6 separate regions of the Homo sapiens genome follow, and regions 2, 3, 4, 5 and 6 are each linked to region 1. Evidence: promoter capture Hi-C in 16 types of primary human blood cells and fetal thymus (Javierre and others, 2016). All regions are on one chromosome and are shown on one strand. The core of a region is centred on a gene start or on the middle of the fragment in contact, and the rest is flanking DNA. Distances in the headings are between cores, read along the strand shown. Region 1 holds the start of GPR119 (G protein-coupled receptor 119). Region 2 has its middle 6.4 kb from the start of ENOX2. Region 3 has its middle 54 kb from the start of OCRL. Region 4 has its middle 49 kb from the start of ENOX2. Region 5 has its middle 30 kb from the start of ENOX2. Region 6 has its middle 43 kb from the start of APLN.

The links. Contacts are between HindIII fragments. The CHiCAGO score rates a contact against its expected background, and 5 or more counts as called.
Region 2: a contact is called between a fragment that was not itself captured here and the fragment with the promoter of GPR119 in region 1, in 12 of 17 cell types (M2 macrophages, M0 macrophages, naive B cells and 9 more). The highest score is 10.1, in M2 macrophages.
Region 3: a fragment that was not itself captured here is called in contact with the fragment with the promoter of GPR119 in region 1 in 2 of 17 cell types (activated CD4 T cells and total CD4 T cells); the score reaches 6.5 in activated CD4 T cells.
Region 4: a fragment that was not itself captured here is called in contact with the fragment with the promoter of GPR119 in region 1 in 7 of 17 cell types (megakaryocytes, naive CD8 T cells, M0 macrophages and 4 more); the score reaches 8.0 in megakaryocytes.
Region 5: a fragment that was not itself captured here is called in contact with the fragment with the promoter of GPR119 in region 1 in 7 of 17 cell types (M2 macrophages, M0 macrophages, M1 macrophages and 4 more); the score reaches 7.6 in M2 macrophages.
Region 6: a contact is called between a fragment that was not itself captured here and the fragment with the promoter of GPR119 in region 1, in 1 of 17 cell types (neutrophils). The highest score is 5.1, in neutrophils.

What each region holds. Positions count from the first base shown.
Region 1 is chrX:130,384,168-130,387,052 of GRCh38, reverse strand. It overlaps GPR119 (G protein-coupled receptor 119), which reads left to right and starts at 1,379. Exons shown (of 2, transcript NM_178471.3): 1 at 1,379-2,617. The coding sequence starts at 1,606. The coding sequence ends at 2,613. The HindIII fragment of the contact is 2,318 bases long and covers 1,086-2,885 here.
Region 2 is chrX:130,907,935-130,911,184 of GRCh38, reverse strand. No RefSeq gene overlaps it. Among named protein-coding and RNA genes, the nearest start is that of ENOX2, 6.4 kb to the right of the region's middle. The HindIII fragment of the contact is 1,933 bases long and covers 933-2,865 here.
Region 3 is chrX:129,592,642-129,595,696 of GRCh38, reverse strand. No RefSeq gene overlaps it. Among named protein-coding and RNA genes, the nearest start is that of OCRL, 54 kb to the right of the region's middle. The HindIII fragment of the contact is 729 bases long and covers 1,027-1,755 here.
Region 4 is chrX:130,950,335-130,953,431 of GRCh38, reverse strand. No RefSeq gene overlaps it. Among named protein-coding and RNA genes, the nearest start is that of ENOX2, 49 kb to the right of the region's middle. The HindIII fragment of the contact is 806 bases long and covers 897-1,702 here.
Region 5 is chrX:130,932,025-130,935,159 of GRCh38, reverse strand. No RefSeq gene overlaps it. Among named protein-coding and RNA genes, the nearest start is that of ENOX2, 30 kb to the right of the region's middle. The HindIII fragment of the contact is 3,380 bases long and covers 149-3,135 here.
Region 6 is chrX:129,609,979-129,613,222 of GRCh38, reverse strand. No RefSeq gene overlaps it. Among named protein-coding and RNA genes, the nearest start is that of APLN, 43 kb to the left of the region's middle. The HindIII fragment of the contact is 1,006 bases long and covers 987-1,992 here.

The DNA of each region.
Region 1 (2,885 bases), core at 130-2,629:
CATGGGTTTGAAAAGGGCTAACTTGACTCCGTGGAGTCAAGAGCTGGGGAAACCCAAGCACACCTTAGGTCCAGGTATAAAATTAGGCTAGGTTCTAAGCAACTGGAATCAATCTCCTAATGGACATACCAAAGAATAAGAACTGTTTTCAGGATGGCAACTAGAATACTGAATCCCCACAACACAGTCTTTCTGATCCTTTTTTAGGAGAGACATCTGCCAAAGGCCCTCTCAGACTGTCAAAACATCCTGGAATATATTTGCGTCCAACTCTGCACCTTGCTCTCTATTCCCTCACTTCAAACACTAACCTTTCCCATTTGTGCTCTCACCTGAACTGAGTAAATAAGCTTCTAACCACTCTTCTCCCCACCCCTCTCTTCTTGGTATCCAAGATGAGAGTGGCAGGCGAAAGGGTAGTTCTAATGTACCCAAGCAAATGGATACACATCCTAAAACAGGAGTGACTTATGCAGCTGCCCCTCCAGAGTGCATCTCACCTGCTTCAGCAACACAGTTGCCCTTTGGTCTAACCTCCCCCCCTCAACCGCCCCCACGTTCCTATTCCTGGAAAATGGAAAATTCCATAGCCAAACATCAAGCAGACACTTCCCAGAATGCAGCTCATCTCCTCTTCTCCTCCCGCAGAGATACCTCAGGTCTATAGGATTAAGAAAGGCAAGCCCAGCAGCCACTACTCACTGACCAGACCTGGCCCAACATGCTGCAGAAATAATTATCAATTAGTATACTTGAGAGACAGCAGCGTGAGGTGGAGAATGGGTTCTAAACTGAATGACAGCTGTTAACAGTTTTTGGCCCTGTTTTTCCTGTCCTGAATCCTCAACTGAGATCCTAGGGATGAGAAACGGGGGAACAGCACGCCCTACTTGAGAGAATTAGAATTTGAGGCGCTAGGAAGCAAAAGGTAAGAAACAGCTTAAATGTGTGGTAGCACTCCTGAAAATATGCTGGGGCCCCTCAAAAAGCTCACCTTCCCTCACTTCCCACTTCAACTGATTATGAGCATCTTGCTTGATTAAAAGCAATTCATAATAGTAATTGAGAATTAGTAAGAAAAAGCTTAATTAAGCTGAGATTAATTATTTAAGCTGGTACTCGAGGTTTTGGAAGAAAAGTAGAAATTTAATGTCAAGGTATGGAGGAAGAAAAAAGTATGATTGGAGTCAATTATATCTTTTGACAGACAGGAGACCTGATGAATGTCCCTGTCCCTCCAGAGTCCCTGAAGCACCAGTGAAGGGAGAGGGCCTGGCGAGACAGCATGTACAGGTACTTGGGAGTTGTCTAGTAACTTGCTGGTTGGAGGGGGAGGGACTAGCTCAGGGCCCAGGGGGAGGTCTATACTGAAGTTGCTGCCTTTAGAGAGCTGGAGAGGCAGGAGGCTGAGGACTGAAAAGAGAGGGTGAGTAATTCTTCATGACCTGTAGGATCCCAAAGATGGCGACCTGCCAGCCTGGACTGCCAGCGAAGGCCAGAATCGTGCTGTAGCTCTGAACCCACAGCTCCTCTGCCCCTGGCCCATGAGAATTTCAGCTGGAGAGATAGCATGCCCTGGTAAGTGAAGTCCTGCCACTTCGAGACATGGAATCATCTTTCTCATTTGGAGTGATCCTTGCTGTCCTGGCCTCCCTCATCATTGCTACTAACACACTAGTGGCTGTGGCTGTGCTGCTGTTGATCCACAAGAATGATGGTGTCAGTCTCTGCTTCACCTTGAATCTGGCTGTGGCTGACACCTTGATTGGTGTGGCCATCTCTGGCCTACTCACAGACCAGCTCTCCAGCCCTTCTCGGCCCACACAGAAGACCCTGTGCAGCCTGCGGATGGCATTTGTCACTTCCTCCGCAGCTGCCTCTGTCCTCACGGTCATGCTGATCACCTTTGACAGGTACCTTGCCATCAAGCAGCCCTTCCGCTACTTGAAGATCATGAGTGGGTTCGTGGCCGGGGCCTGCATTGCCGGGCTGTGGTTAGTGTCTTACCTCATTGGCTTCCTCCCACTCGGAATCCCCATGTTCCAGCAGACTGCCTACAAAGGGCAGTGCAGCTTCTTTGCTGTATTTCACCCTCACTTCGTGCTGACCCTCTCCTGCGTTGGCTTCTTCCCAGCCATGCTCCTCTTTGTCTTCTTCTACTGCGACATGCTCAAGATTGCCTCCATGCACAGCCAGCAGATTCGAAAGATGGAACATGCAGGAGCCATGGCTGGAGGTTATCGATCCCCACGGACTCCCAGCGACTTCAAAGCTCTCCGTACTGTGTCTGTTCTCATTGGGAGCTTTGCTCTATCCTGGACCCCCTTCCTTATCACTGGCATTGTGCAGGTGGCCTGCCAGGAGTGTCACCTCTACCTAGTGCTGGAACGGTACCTGTGGCTGCTCGGCGTGGGCAACTCCCTGCTCAACCCACTCATCTATGCCTATTGGCAGAAGGAGGTGCGACTGCAGCTCTACCACATGGCCCTAGGAGTGAAGAAGGTGCTCACCTCATTCCTCCTCTTTCTCTCGGCCAGGAATTGTGGCCCAGAGAGGCCCAGGGAAAGTTCCTGTCACATCGTCACTATCTCCAGCTCAGAGTTTGATGGCTAAGACGGTAAGGGCAGAGAAGTTTCAAAGTGCCTTTCTCCTCCCCACTCTGGAGCCCCAACTAGATCAGCAGGAGCTAGGGGGATGAGAGCACTTGCTTCAGGCAATTGACCCCTGTCCCAGCATCCCCCACCCCCAGACTGACAGGTAACTGAGGCAGAGTCCTGACTTTCTTCTATAATCAGTTTCCCCATTTTCAAATCGCCACTCCTCCCTGTCCTTCTTTTGAAATGAGCCTGTCTCTGGTGTACAGGTACACTTACTTAAAGCAAGAA
Region 2 (3,250 bases), core at 650-3,149, 520 kb before region 1:
ATCTGTATAATGAGGATAACAACACTTATCATATTGGACTGTCATGAGCCTCCATGGGAGAATGTAAGTAAAAACAAACATGCATTCCATAGATATTTATTGAACATATAGTGAGTGAGATATAATGGAGATCAGTGTAGCCTGGGGCAAGATGAGGAATGGTTTAGAAAGGGTGCTCAGGAAAACCAATACTGGCAAAAAGAACATGATGTAAGAGCTTAACAAATGGGACTTTCTGGCCGGGTGTGGTGGTTCATGCCTGTAATCCCAACACTTTGGGAGGCCAAGGCGGGTGGAACACCTGAGGTCAGAAGTTTGAGACCAGCCTGGCCAACATGGTGAAGCCCGTCTCTGCTGAAAATACAAAAAAATTAGCTGGGCGTGGGGGTGGGTGCCTGTAATCCCAGTTACTTGGGAGGCTGAGGCAGGAGAATCACTTGAACTCAGGAGGCAGACGTTGCAGTGAGCCAAGACCGCGCCATTGCACACCAGCCTGGGCAACAAGAACGAAACTCCGTCTCAAAAAAATCCCCAAAAAACAAACAAAACAAAACAAACAAACAAAAAACCAAATGGGACTTTCCATTTTTTGCAAGGTTTTCCAACTTGCATTAATTCCACAATTTATAAAAATGTCTGTCCTTCAAGAAGCACATATCTACTTCCCAGGGTTACCAGCTCCCTGGTCACCAGTTCTTTCCTTTCTTCTCAATCTCATGTGCTTGCCCTGTCCTTCTTAAGCAAAAATTCTGAGACACCAAGGACATTGCTGGTCCTGATTCAGTAAACGGCCTCTCTTTATGGTTTCTTCCCTGCATCATTCCTACCATTTCACTTGTATGAATCCACTTTTTTAACCTTTTATGACAACTTTATTGATGTATAATTACCAATCACTATCACCACAGGCTGAGCAAACAGTCTCTTAAGCTTGGTCACAGAGCAAGCTGCCAACACTGAATGCAGATCCTGTGTTTAACCCTGACCACCAGCCAAACACCTAACCCAAGACATAGCCTAAACTCCTAACTCTGAACTTGGAGGCTTAACTCCAATTTCACACCAAGCCTTTAACCCTGGCCACAAATGAAGACCCTAATTCTATCCACAAACTGAGCCACTTTCTGGCCACACTCCAAGGTCTTAATCCTGATTAAATCAAGTCCCTAGGCCTAGTTACATACTGACTGTCTACATCTGGCCCAAGAGTAAGTACTTAAGACTGGTCCCAACCTGAATCTCTAACCCTGATCCCCTATTGAACCATAACTATGGCTACTGTATAAGTCCTTAATTCACGATACAGGGATCAAAAATAACATCAGATATAGCCCCTAAGTCTGTCCCCAGGCTGAGTCTCTAAACTAGGCTACAGACTGCATGACCTAACTCTGGGATATACTTAACATCCTGAACTGACCACAAAATGAGTGCTCAGCATAGATACTAACTGAGCTCTAGCCCTGACTACAGACTGAGGCTCTAACTTGGTCACAGCCTGAGATCTGATCTTGGAAACCAACCCAGCTACAATTTCCCAGACTTAGCACTAACCAGAAAATGACCCCAACATTGGCAACAGAATGACTACTAAACTTGGCCTCATACAGAGACGAAAACATGTACAGAGACCAGACTCTAAACTTGTCCCAACTCTGTGCCTTAATCATGGCCAAGAAGTGAAACCAAATCTTCCACAAAACTTGAGAATATTTTGACCACAGCATATGTCCTAATCCTGACTATAGACAGAACCCTGAACATGGCCACAAACTGAGTCTTAACCATGTTCAAAGCCCAAGTTCTAAACCTGGACAGAGACTGGGTTCATAAATCTGATCAGGAAATAATCTACTGATCCTGGGACAGACTGAGCCCTATCACTGGCCACTGATTTGACCCCTAAACCTTACAGCTTCTAACTGGTTACAGACTGCATCTCTAACTCTAGCCATAGACTGAATTCCTAACTCTCATCACAGACTGAGCCCATAAGCCTAACCTCTGACATGAGCTTTCAACCTGAAAATAAATCTGATTTCTCCAAATGGCTAATGACTGATCCTGAATTTTTGAGATAGACTGAACCCTATCTCTGGCTAAATGTTCACCCGAGACTGGATCCCAATTTCAACCACAACTTTAACTTTAACCCTGGCTACCGACTGATTCCTAATACCAGAAATTAAGCTGCTCACCAGCACTGGGCAGAGACTGAACCCAAACCTTGAAGATGAATGAAGGACAAACTAGACAAAGACAAAACAAATACTTTTCATTTTCTTGGCCTAAAACCCTGCAACAGATTTAATTCTAACCCTGAGCACAGACGGAACTCACCATGGCTAAGATCTGAGCCCTCTTCCTGGCCACATTCTGAATACTGAGCTGGGATGAAGACTGTAAGTCCCACCACAGTCTGAGACCTAAAGGCCAAGCCCTAAGCCTGGTTAGAGAAATGATTCCTGACCCTACAAGACTAAATCAAAATCCTGCTCATATTATCAGATCTAACAACAGGCTGAGACTAAGTACTCACCTTTGTCACATATCAAGTCTTAAACCCATAAACAAAGTTCACTGTATTAGTGGCCACAAACTGAGTCCTAGCACTAGCTGGAGGTTGAGCAATCAGTCTGGTCACAAACTTAGTCCTCAATTGTGAATAGATGTACCCATGGCACTGGGCACATTATGGTCACTAACAATTAGCAAAGACTGAACTCTACTACTGATACCGAAATGCCTGCTACACTAAGCCAGAGTCTAAGTGCCAGACTGACAACAGGCAATGAACACTCTGAACTCAAACCCTGGCAACATCCTGATCCCAAAACCCTGATTACAGCCTGAGCCTCTAAAGCTTTCAATCTGGATTTTATGTGTTGTTTGTTCTCATCTCAACTCTATCCACTGACTGACAAATAACATCAACAGCTAATCCAAAAAACCTGTTTACACTCTTAGCCTTAAAACCTTCTTCATAGTAAGCCTTACCTTGGTTATTGGTAACTCCCAAACTCTGGTACAAGTTTAATCAGATAGCACTACCACCAATACTCAGTGAACACAAATGCTACATAAAGTCATAGTGGAATTACTCCCTCCAGACTCAACTCTGATAGTGGTCAAATTGAAATGGCTAATACAGGTCACCGACTGAGCCCTGCTCTGGCCACAGAATGAGGGCCAACACAGGCCACTGTGAGTTAGCTCCATAGAACATTGTTGATATGAGCTATGGACAAAG
Region 3 (3,055 bases), core at 142-2,641, 790 kb after region 1:
ATGAGGTTAAGCTGAAGACATTTTGATGTGCAGGGGGCAAGGCTGTTTTGACATTTTCACAAAGTAAAGGGTACAGTCACTTGCTGGGAGCTGAAGGGCAGCAGAAGCGGGTTCTGGGCCTGGAGGCCCATGGAGGGCTTGGGAATAATTGCACTAGCTGCCATTTATTTAGCACTTAGGCACCAGGCACTGTTCCAAGGCCTGGAAATGTAGTATCTGATCTCATCCTCATGATGATACTATGAGGAAAGGTGCTATCATTACTTTTAAGATGTGGAAACACCTTCAATACGTACAATTTGTCTTCTCAATTATACCCAATAAAGCTGGAGAGAAAAGACATGGAAACCAAGGCACAGAGACGTCAATTAACTTTTGATCAGGGTCACACATCTAGAAGTGGCAGAGCTGGGATTTGAACTCAGGCAGTCTGGTCATTAGAGCCTATGTGAAGAACCACTATAGCTTCCTGCCTCCCCAGGCCCCGTGGAGCAGGTACGTGAGGTCATCAAGAGAGGAAGAGGAAGATTGTGGAAGAGTACATGGCAAGCCCAGGGGCAGTCAGCCAGCATGCTATACCAGGAAGCCCAGGAATGAGGGCAGAGAGTCAATGGGACAGGGCGGGTGACTTAGGGTTAGGCACAGCAAAGATGGGGACTGAGGCAAGAAAGAGAGAGGAAGGAGTTTTCTGGGTAAACAGCACATGCAAAGGCCCTGAGGCTGGAAAGAGTTCAGCTCACTGGGAGGAGTAAAAGGACAGTATCAGAGTATATTGGCAGGGGTGAGGAAGGGTTATGGTAGGCAGAGGTCAGATCCTTTAGGGTGGTATTCTCAAAGTGTGGTCCTGCATCAAAATGCTCTTGGGTCCTGATTTAGAATGCAGACTCCTGTGCCTCCTCTCAGACCAACTGACTCAGAATTTCTGGAGCCTAGGAATCTGCTTTTTAACAATGTATCCAGGTGATTCTTCTGCACATGAAGATTTGAGACCCATTGATGCAGGGCCTGGTGGGCCATGGCGAAGCTTAGGTTTCATTGTAAATGTCGCTGAAGGGTTATCAACAGGGGAGGGATGAGACTGATGTAATTAAGTCATGCTGCCTGCTGCGTGGAAAATGGATTGGAGGGCAGCAAAGTTAAAAAGACCAGGCAGGGCATGGTGGGCTCATGCCTCTAATCCCAGCACTTTGTGAAGCCAAGGTGGGAGGACTGCTTGAGCCCAGGAGTTTGAGACCAGCCTGGGCAACACAGGGGGACCCTACCTCTACAATTATTTTTTTTTTAATTAGCCAGGCTTGGTAATGTGCGCCTACAGTCCCAGCTACTCGGAGGCTGAGGTGGGAGCATCGCTTGAACCTGGGAAGTCAGGCTGCAGCAGTGAGCCGATCATGCCACTGCACTCCAGCTGAGGCAACAGAGTAAGACCCTGTCTCAAAAAAGAAAAAAAAGAGAGAGAGAGAGAAAGAAGACTAGGCAGGAGGCCATGACGACACCCTAAGAAGGGATGATGGTGGTGGCCTTGACCAATAAAATTGGCAGTGGGGGTGATGAAAAGCAGACGCGTGGGGCACGTTGCTGAGGTGGTCGGTCGGTAGGAAAGAGAGAAATCAAGGCTAACTCCTAGATGCTTAGCCCCAGCAACTGGGCAGATGGTGTTGACATTCTCTGAGCTGAGGGAAGACAGGTAGAGGATCTAGGTTGGGTGGTAGTAAAAGAACCAGAAGTAAAAGAATTCCACTTTGGACGTGTGAAGCTTGACATGCCTGTGAGACATCTGAGGGGAGATGCCAGCTAACTAATTGGATATACTGGGCAGGAACTCGGAAGAGAGCTATGAGGTGGAGACGTAACATTTGGAATCAGGGGTATTACAGACATTTACAGCCACGGAAATTGATAAGATGCCACCAAAGGAATTAATGGGCAAGCAGAGTAGAACTGCTTGAAAAAACAAATGCCACTATGCCATGCAGTGTCACTAACCTAAGTAACCTTAGGTCAGTCATTGTCCCCTCTGAGACTTTCCCTATCCAAACAATGAGATTGGATTAGGTCACCACTAAGGTTCTCTCCCTAACATTTAGTGATGCCACTGTTGCAATGTGTGGCTTTTACATTATGAGGCTACACCAAGAGCCAGTTCTTCAACTTGCCCTGCAATCAGAAAGGTCCTAATGGGTCTCCTATAACAGAAGCCTCACAGCTGGGGATGCCATTTCCTCTCTAACCTCTGGAAAGACTGACCACCTGCCTGCTATTCTCATTGCCTGCTACTATGTAAAAACTTCTGGTGTCAGTCTCCATCTGCTGGGGGGAAAATCACTCTCAGAAAGAAACACCTTCTCCTGCCAAGGCTTTGGGTGGGGCTTTGAAAGTTGTTTATGACAACACTGAGTCAGCACATTCATCAGGGTCAAGCTCACAGTTGGAGGGAATTGGAAGAGGGCCTTAGTAGAGAAGAAACCTCCAGCTGAGGCTTCTTCAGTCTCAAAGGGAATGGAATCAGAATCCACAAATTCATAATGGAGATTGGCAGGGAAGCATTGGCACCATGCTCAAATCAGCGGTTTCCTCCCAACGTGTTAGGCAGTTCAGATTAGAACAACAAAAAAGTACTAAATTTATGGACTTGATCACCCCAAGAAGTCATAAAAGTTCAAAACTGGTTTTCAAAAGCTGCAAAATAGGATTATGTGAAAACAAGCTCTTTGGGGAAGCGCGTCTAAACTACTGAGACTACTGAGCAGGGGTAGCTGGGTTCTCCCCAGATGTGTATCTTAGGGTTTGTTTCTGGGGCCGGAGGGATCACAGATCTGACCTAGTGTGACATTTACATGCATTAAGAATCAACATCCTTTCCTCTAATTGAGTTGTTTTGTTGCCTGAATCCTTAGGGTTAAAATAAGGGTACTTGGCTGGCCTCTGAAAGTACAGGACACCTTTATTAGCCTCTGAAAACGCATGGTTTCTTCTCATCTCTGAGGGTGAATATACTAAGAATTCTTATAAATGGTATTTCCCTGTAAGACAGGTGATGACAGTGCAGGCACAGCTG
Region 4 (3,097 bases), core at 50-2,549, 570 kb before region 1:
AAAATTATAAAACTTTTTAAAAAAGTTTTTTAAGTAGGAGAAAATCTTCAGGGTCTAAGGCTAGACAAGGATTTATTAAATTTGACACTAAAAATACAATTTATAAAAGGAAAAAATTGATAAGACTTCATCAAAATAAAAAACTTTTTCTCTGCAAAGGACCCTATTAAGAGGATGAAACAACAAGCTACAGAGTGGGAGAAAATATCTGCAAACCACATATCCAGAAAGGACAATATTTAGAGTATAGGAGTAACCCAAACTCAGCAGTTTAAAAAATCCAATTAAATAATAGAAAAAAGACATAAACAGACATTTCACTGAGGATGATATACAGATGGCAAATAAGTACATGGAAAGATATTCAACATTATTAGTGATTAAAGAAATGTGAAAAAAAATCACAATGATATATCACTACACTACTATCAGCTTAGCTAAAATAAAAAATAGTGACAACATCAGATGCTGCCAAGGATGAGGAGAAACTGGATCACTCATACATTACGGGTGAGAATGTAGCCACTCTGAATAACAGTTTGGTACTTCTTCAACATATTAAATGTAGTTTCCATATGACCCACTGTTATACAAATGAGTCAAAGATGGCCTCTGTATGTTAGCCCTATCTTGTTTATTTTTTTCACAAGCCAGGATTTATTAGCTCAAAAGCCCATCAGTACTAAGGTCAAATTTTCACACATTCTTTTGTTATAAATGTAGCTCAAATAAACAGATATTTACTCATTTAGAGCCTTCCTGCTTTGCATACTCCACAAAACTGCATCCAACACCTGTTAGCCAGAGATAAGACAAACCACAGGGCTAAAGACTCTAAGCCACTGTTACCCTTCAGAGTCTCTGCTGCTCAGTGATATAACCTAGACACTTAAGCTTCCTCTTTGATCCCTCGTTCCCCCAGAAGTTCCCTTGCCCTCCTCTCCTTAATAAAATAAAGAGGGGAAATTTGGACACAGAGACAAACATGCACAGAGGGAAGATGACATGAAGATGGTTATGTGATAATGTAGGCAAAGATTGGACTGATGGCAGCTGCAAGCCAAAGATTGCCAGCCACTACTAGTAGCTAGGAAATGACAAGGAAGTATTCTACCATGACAGTTTCAGAGACAGCTGACTTGATTTGGGACAGCTAGCCTCCAGAGCTGTAGAGCAACAAATTCTTGTTGTTTTAAGCCATGTAGTTTTTGGTACTTTGTTATGACAGCCCTATCAAACTAATATACCATGGAATATTTGGAATATTACTCAGCAATTAAGGCAATGAACTATTGATAAACACAACTTGGAGAATTATGCTAAATTTTTTAAAAGGCCAATCCCAAAAGGTGACACACTGTATAATCCCATTCATAGAACATTATGAAATGCCAAATATTAGAAATGAATGACAGGTTAGTGGTTGCCAGAGTTTAGGGATGGGACTGTGGGGTGCACAGGAGGGTTGTGTGCATGGCTATAAAAGAGCAACACAAAGGATCCTTGTGGAAATGTTCTGTATCTTGACTGGTGCTAAATTTGTGAATCTACACGTGATAAAATTGTATAGAACTTACTACACACACAAGTATAAAGTAAAACTGGAGAAATCAGAATCAAATTAGTGATTTGTATCAGTGTATCGGTATCTTGGTTGTGATATTATACTATAGTGTTGCAAAATGCTGCTATTTGGGAAGCTTAGCAAAGTGTCAATGGGTCTCTCTAAATTATTTCTTACAACTGCATGTGAATCTACAATTAGCTCAATAAAAATTTCAATTAGAATAAAGCATCACTTGGCTGTTAAGAACAAACTTTGAAGGGCAAGGGTGGCAGCAGGGAGAACAGCTAGGAAACTTCTGCATAAATCCAGGAATAAATGGATAATTGCTCCGACTAGGATGATAGCAGTAACGTAAAGGTAGAGAGAAGCAGTTGGATTCTGGATACATAGTGTTTTGAAAGTAGAACAGAATTTTCTAACAGACGCATGTAAGATGTGAGAGAAAGAGAAGTGTCAAGGATGATGTAAAGGTGTTAATATGGTGAAGGCTGCAGGTGGAGAGGGTTTGGCAGTAGAGTTGGGGGGAAGGGATTAAGATAGTAAACCTTGGGGACTGGATGAGATCATTAAGGGAATAATTCTTGCTTAGAGAAAAGAGAAAAACTAATAACTGAGACTTCAAAGAAGGTTCTCGGAAAAAAAAAAGGTACCTCAGAAAGTTACCCAATTACAAAAGTATGGAACATTGAAGCATGTGGATTTGTGGACTACTTGCAGTAAGGAGTCTGCAACCCACAGGCTGGGGATTATTAGGCTGGGATATCTTGGATAGGAATATGGGCCTCATGACTTGAGTCTATGTCCAAGGAACCCAGGAGGAAAATACCCTCCTTCCCCCACCCCCTCAAAAAGTGACAAAACAAAACAAAATAGCAGGTCCAAAGTGGCTGCTTTCATATTCTGCAAAGGTATCCCTGAGTGGGCAGATATTTACTTTGTAAATATTGTGAAAAATGACTTCATTCTGCCATCTGATCCAATCTTTCCACTGGGAGCTTAGCTGCTTCCCCCAGATCCAACCTGTCAGTCTCATGGTTGATATAGACTCCAGAAGATGTGGCCCTGGCTGCCACCCTCCTCATCATGCTTCTCACCCCATCTGTTGGCTGGTTCTTAATTCTCTGCACTGGCATTAGAATTTCCCTCTGGGAACCCAATTAGGGTGTGCTCACCAAGCAAAACTAATGTGCCCTCTGTATGATGTGTATAGAGCAATGTTCAACATGTTGGTTTTGGGGGACTCAAAGCAGCAAAATGACAGTGCTCCCATAACGCCTGTCAGTCTTGGACAGGATCAGAAGAAGAGAAGAAAGGAGGGAGGAAGGGAGAGAGAATGGAAACATTTTGGGACACAGCTGCCACCTACTACTGCTCCGCCATGCCTGGAAAAGCAATGAAAGCTGAAGGCAAGAGCTCAGTTTCCTAGCCCACTGGTGAGGCAGTAATATCTCTAAGCCAATTAGTTACACAGAGGGTGGGAAGGTTGCTCAGTCTGGAGAAATGAAGCATGAAGAGGGCCGGTTGGAGACA
Region 5 (3,135 bases), core at 589-3,088, 550 kb before region 1:
TTTTAACAGATTTTTGCATCTATGTTCATGAGGGATATTGGTTTGTAATCTGCTTTTTTTGTAATGCTCTTGTCGGGTTAAAGCTGGGGGTACATAATTTGTGGGACCCAGTGCAAATGAAAATGGAGGGCCCCTTATTCATAAAGCTTTTTAAAAATGTTAAAGGTACTAAAATATCAACATTTTTCCTTAAAATCTTTTATTACATATAAAATGTAATATAGATAACAATGATACATAAATGTTTCTTATAGAAACCTCAACCCTGCTTTTAAAACTTCCTAATTGATTTAGTCAGGCCCACTCAGATTATCCAGGATAATCTCCCTTACTTAAAATTCAGTGGATCAGGGGCTTTAATTGCACATGCAATGATACATGATACCTGAATGATATATAAACATACAAATTGCAAAAATGGTGTCAAAATTTTATATAATACAATGAATAATATTTTATTAATGTGGTATTTTTATTGATCATAAGATTTTTTTGGCTCACTTTTGTGAAAATTATTTATTAGATCCTCAAAGTTTTTAATTTTAGTAACCGCATTTTTTTTTTTTTTTTTTTTTTTTTTTTTTTTGAGATGGAGTCTTGCTCTGTCGCCCAGGCTGGAGTGCAATGGTGCAAACACGGCTGACTGCAAGCTCCGCCTCCTGGGTTCACGCCACTCTCCTGCCTCAGCCTCCCGAGTAGCTGGGACTACAGGCGCCTGCCACCACACCCGGCTAATTTTTTTGTATTTTTAGTAGATACGGGGTTTCTCCGTAGCCAGGATAGTCTCAATCCCCCGACCTTGTGATCCACTCGCCTCGGCCTCCCAAAGTGCTGGGATTACAGGCGTGAGCCACCATGCCTGGCAAGTAATCTCATTTTTAATTGACATAATGAAAGCAACATGCATTTTTAGGTTGTGATAACAATGTAATAAATTTCCAATAAATTGTATTACAGTTAGACCTGATGATTCTTGGAGAACAATTTCTCCGAAAAGAAAAACCTCTTCATACAAATGCAGTTTTCTGTAAGTGTGATTTAATTTAATTATTTTATTTATTTATTTTTGAGACAGTCTTGCTGTTTTGCCCAGGCTGGAGTGCTCACCAGCAATGGTGAGGTGGGAGGCTCACCACAATGTCCGCCTCCCAGGTTCAAGCGATTCTCCTGCCTCAGCCTCCCTAGTAGCTGGGATTATAGACATGCACCACCACACCCAGCTAATTTTTGTATTTTTAGTAGAGATGGGGTTTTACCATGTTGGTCAGGCTAGTCTCAAACTCCTGGCCTCATGTGATCCACCTGCCTTGGCCTCCCAAAGTGCTGAGATTACAGGCAAGAGCCACCGCACCCAACTATTAATTTTAAATGTATATTTATATGACGGTATGTTAAGTAGAATTCTTAAAATGGCCCCTAAAATGTCATACCCTAATCTCTAGAACCTGTATAGATATATTAATATATGATGAGATACCTCTCATGATTGTGTTACACAGCGTAGTTGACCTCAAAAAAGGAAGATTATTCAGGTGAGCCTAGTCAAATCACATGAACACTTTTAAATGCAGTTTTCTCCAGCTAGTAGCAAAAGGGGAAGTCAAAGGGATTTAAAGCATATGGGGGAGTCACATGAGGGATCCTGATGCCAGTTGTGATAGTTTCTTTACTGTAAAGATGATTTTTTTCCTCGTTTGGAAAGAAGTCACTAAGTCTTGCCCAAACTCAAGGAGTGGTGGTGGCAATAATAATTAAGCATCATCTCCAAGAGGGGAGAATCTATAGAAATTTCTAACAAATTTCTGATAAACATGGAATTCTGTTGTAAGAAAATTTGTCTTGTTTCCCTCATTTATTTATTTATTCAATCATCTATTTATACCACTAAGGATTCAAATATTTTTATTTTGTACTTTGGGTAATAATCCAGTAGTACATGATTTACTTTGTTGTTCAGATTTTTCCATCTTTGCTCATTGGGAGCTCTTTCACATTGCCTTCTGTCCTTCTGTGTCACTTTGACATGCCCTACCTTTTTTTTAGAAAAACTACTTCCTTATTTTGTGGTACTACAAGATGCTCCAGACTCACCTTGTATTTCCTCTGAATCATTTTCTCTAAATAGTGAATTAAGCCCATTCACATTTATTGATATCACTGATATGTTTAATTTCAACTCTGTCATACTATTTTATTCTATTACTGTGTGTGTCAGTCAGGTTGAATCAGAGAAGTAGAACATGTAGGGTGTATGTCTGTTACATGAATTGGCTTATGCAATTGTAGGGCCTAGCTAAAAAAGCCTGAAATCCTTAGGGCAAGCAGTCACGAAGGGAAGTTCACTGGCAGGCTCAAATTCCACAGGCACAGGCCAAAGCTGTTGTCCACAGGAAGAATTTTTTCTGTCTCTTCGAGAAACTTCAGCCCTGCTTTTAAGACTTACCTAATTGATTCAGTCAGGCCCACTCAGATTATCCAGGATAATCTCTCTTACTTAAAATCAATGAATTAGGGGCTTTAATTGCATCAGCAAGAACATTCAACAGCAATACCTAGATTAGTGTTTGATGGAACAACTGGGGGCTATAGCCCAGCCAAACTGACATCTCATGGGAGCCGTCACACTGTAAGTATTATATTGTACTTTCTGTGTGTCTATGTGGGCTCTTTTCCTGCCTTGGTAATTAGGCAGGTTTGTCACTTTGTTCTAGTGGTTACCTTTACACTACTGTCTTTTATAATACTCTTACTTTCCTTACTTAACCTTCTACTACCTGGTTTGTCAGATTTAATCTTTATTTGATATCCCTTTACCTCCATGTATTCCCCATGTAACAATAAAACAGAACTAATGTTTAAAAGTATACTTAAAAGAAAAAAACTTTCCAGCAACAAAATAAAACCAGCATTGTCATACTAGATACAGTCCGTCATGTATGGGGGAAAGATGATCCAGAATGGTTGGCACCAATAAAAATCTCAGTGCCAAATCTTAGACTTCAAATGTAAATAAATAAAGCTCAGGGCCTCTTGGCAAAAAGTTGAAGTAACTTTAAAAGAATGAAAATAAGTTTAGCACCAAACTTCCCAACAATAACATAGAAAGCAAGACAACAATGGAGTAGCATGTTCAAG
Region 6 (3,244 bases), core at 240-2,739, 770 kb after region 1:
ACCCAGGCTGGATTGCAGTGGTATGATCTTGGCTCACTGCAACCTCTGCCTTCCAGGTTCAAGCAATTCTCCTGCCTCAGCCTCCCATGTAGCTGGGATTACAGGCGCCCGCCACCATGCCTGGCTAATTTTTGTATTTTTAGTAGAGACAAGATTTCACCGTGTTGGCCAGGCTGGTCTTGAACTCCTGACCTCAAGCAATCCACCTGCCTCGGCCTCCCAAAGTGCTGGGATTACAGGCATGAGCCACCATGCCCAGCCAGAACTCAAGTATTCTTAAACATGAGTCATCACTGCCTCTTCCCTACCTTGCAGGAGACAAAGGCTATAGAGACCTCAGTCCCTATTTTCCCTTGGGAAACTCACAGTCTAGTAGGCTCAGCCCTAAGAAATTTCTCCGAAGACATTCAGAAGTAAGTAATTGATGAACAAGATAGGGGATGACTGTGATATTTATTAACAAAGAAATAAACTGGGTGATGACAAACAGTATATGTGTTTCTGGGGTACCAGGGGAGATACTTTGACTTTATATGGGTTGTCAGACCTCTATGAGCTAGTGGCTTTTGAGCTGAGCCTGAAAGATGAAAAGGAAGCAGCCCACAAAAATCTGGAGGAAGAACATTCCAGGCAGAGAGAACAGCCAGCACAAAAGCCCCAGGGCAGCAAAGGACTTGGGGCCTCTTGGACCAGAATGGAGGCTGGTGTCCCTATGGGATTAGGCAGAGAGATAAGGTTAAAGAGGCAGGTGTGGGCTGATCATGCCAGGGCGTTTACGCCATCTTAAGGGAGGGTCATGAGCACAATAACAATTCATAGCATTGAGACCTTTCCCAAAAACACCTTGTCACTACACATGGCTCAATGATCTACATTCTATTCGAGCAGAGGAAAGATGTGGCACTTAGTCAACCATTTTCCCATCACAGTTCTGAACATGTTGGAAAAGCAAAGCTTCTCTTTTTTGGACTTCACCAATTCAAGCTTTGAACTAGTTCATATAGCGGTTGGGCTATGAGACAGTGGGTTTGATACACTGCCTCCCAGTACCCACCAAAGGAACCCAGGATCTTCTGTTTAAAAAAACAGACCCACCAGCAAGTTAGAAATCAACCATGGCTGTGCTGCTTGCATATCAGGCTTATCTATTCACTAAAGCTCGCTCCTGAAGATTCCTATTTGACATAATTGTGTTAACCCTCTTCCTATTGCTATGTAGTGGAAAATGATTGTTAAAAAAAAAAAAAAACACGTTGGCCGGGCACAGTGGCTCACGCCTGTAATCCCAGCATTTTGGGATGCTGAGGCGGGCGGATCACAAGGTCAGGAGATTGAGACCATCCTGGCTAACACGGTGAAACCCCGTCTCTACTAAAAATACATAAAATTAGCAGGGCATGGTGGCGGGCGCCTGTAGTCCCAGCTACTTGAGAGGCTGAGGCAGGAGAATGGCGTGAACCCGGGAGGCGGAGCTTGCAGTGAGCCGAGATTGCGCCACTGTGCTCCAGCCTGGGTGACAGAGTGAGACTCTGTCTCAAAATAAATAAATAAATAAAATAAAACACGTAGTTTTGGGGGAAACATTCAATATGTTGATTTTTAAAAACAGAATAAAAACTCTGATCTCTGCCTAATTCATCTGAATTTCCTGAGTGTCTATTGATATATCTGTGATGAAGGATTTGTGTTCACATCCTGGGCAGAAGACATAGTAAACCTCGAAATATACCAAACACAGGGACAAGTTCCCTCCTCCCCCCTCTTCCCCCAAGAATTCTATTCAGAACCAGGTTCCTGGTCTTGGTTCCTTGAACCTGCCTGGCAGACAGTCCCAGGTGTGTGTTTCCTTACACTTTACATCCGAGCCACTGTTCTGACTTTCGAGACTTTCCTTCTTCCTCAAGGCTCAGCCTAGAAGACAGTGTGTGGCACAGATTGCGCTCAGCAAATATTTGCTCCCCTACATTTCTCAGCCTTTCTTGCAATTAAGCTTGGGCCACGTGACTAATTCTGACCAAGAGAGTCAGTGAACTTAATGTGCATCATTTCTGGGCCAAGACAGTTAAGAGTTGGTGTGCTGTTATGGGCTGAATTGTGTCCCCCTTATCCATATATTGAAACACTAGACCGCCAGTGTGGCTGTATTTGGTGTTAGGAAGTAATTAAGGTTAAATGAGTATGGGGCCCTGATCCAATAGGATTAGTGCCTTCGTAAGAGGAGATACCAGAGAGCTAGCTCTCTCTCAGCCATGGGAAGACACAGCGAGAAGTCAGCCATCTGCAAGCCAGAAAGAGTGCCCTTACCTGACACTGAATCTGCCAGTGTCTTGACTGTGGGCTTTCCAGCTGTGGAACTGTGAGAAATGAATTCCTCTTCTTTAAGCTACCCAGTCTATGCTAGTTTGTTATGACAGCCCATGCTGACTAAGACTATTTACTTCTCCATCTGTCTTTCCCCCTGCTGTGGAGTTCTAGGAGGCCACATGTTTCAGGTTGGCCTTACTACGTGTCATCCAACCTGCACTAGACTTTTGTGAGAACCAGAAATAAGCCTTTCTTGTGTTAAACCCCTGAGATTTCAGGGTTTCTGTGTTATTGCAGCATAACTCCACATATTCTGACCAATGCACAGTGACAGAGAAAAGGACATGGCACATCATCTTTGTCCAAACAAAAGCAAAAGCAGATGTGGGCCACCAGCTGTTCTCCCTCTGGCCCATCTTGTCTCCAAGGCTGAAGGTGGCCCCAGTGAGTCCTGGGTATTAAGACAGGTGCAAACTGTGCTTCCTGGGTCCTGGGATTCAGCAAACGATGAAGATTTAAACTGCTGGAGGAATCCACTGAGGTTTCAAGTAAGAAAACAAGAGCTCCAGCTGCTCTTGGGAAACTCTGGGAGGTAAGGTATTGTTTCTAGAAAGCCCCCACTGAAATGCACACCAGTTCCCTGGAAGGAGTCATGCATTTATCCACTGACAACCAAGAGGCACATGTTAGGGACTGATTTATCAGGGGAGGGCTAGAGGGACAGGCCCAGGGCCTCAGGGCCACCCTGGGTCACAAAGTAGGAGGTAGACCGCACAGCTTGGCCCAGAGTTCTCCCTCGACTGCCTGTGAAGAGGTTTGAATTTCAGCAGGAGTAGGAGGGCCATGTCACTATGTCAGTTTCCCTATGGCTTCTCACTGGCATGCCCCTCTTGGGCCAGGCCACCTGCATGACCATCTTTTCAGACCATCTAGGAGAGAG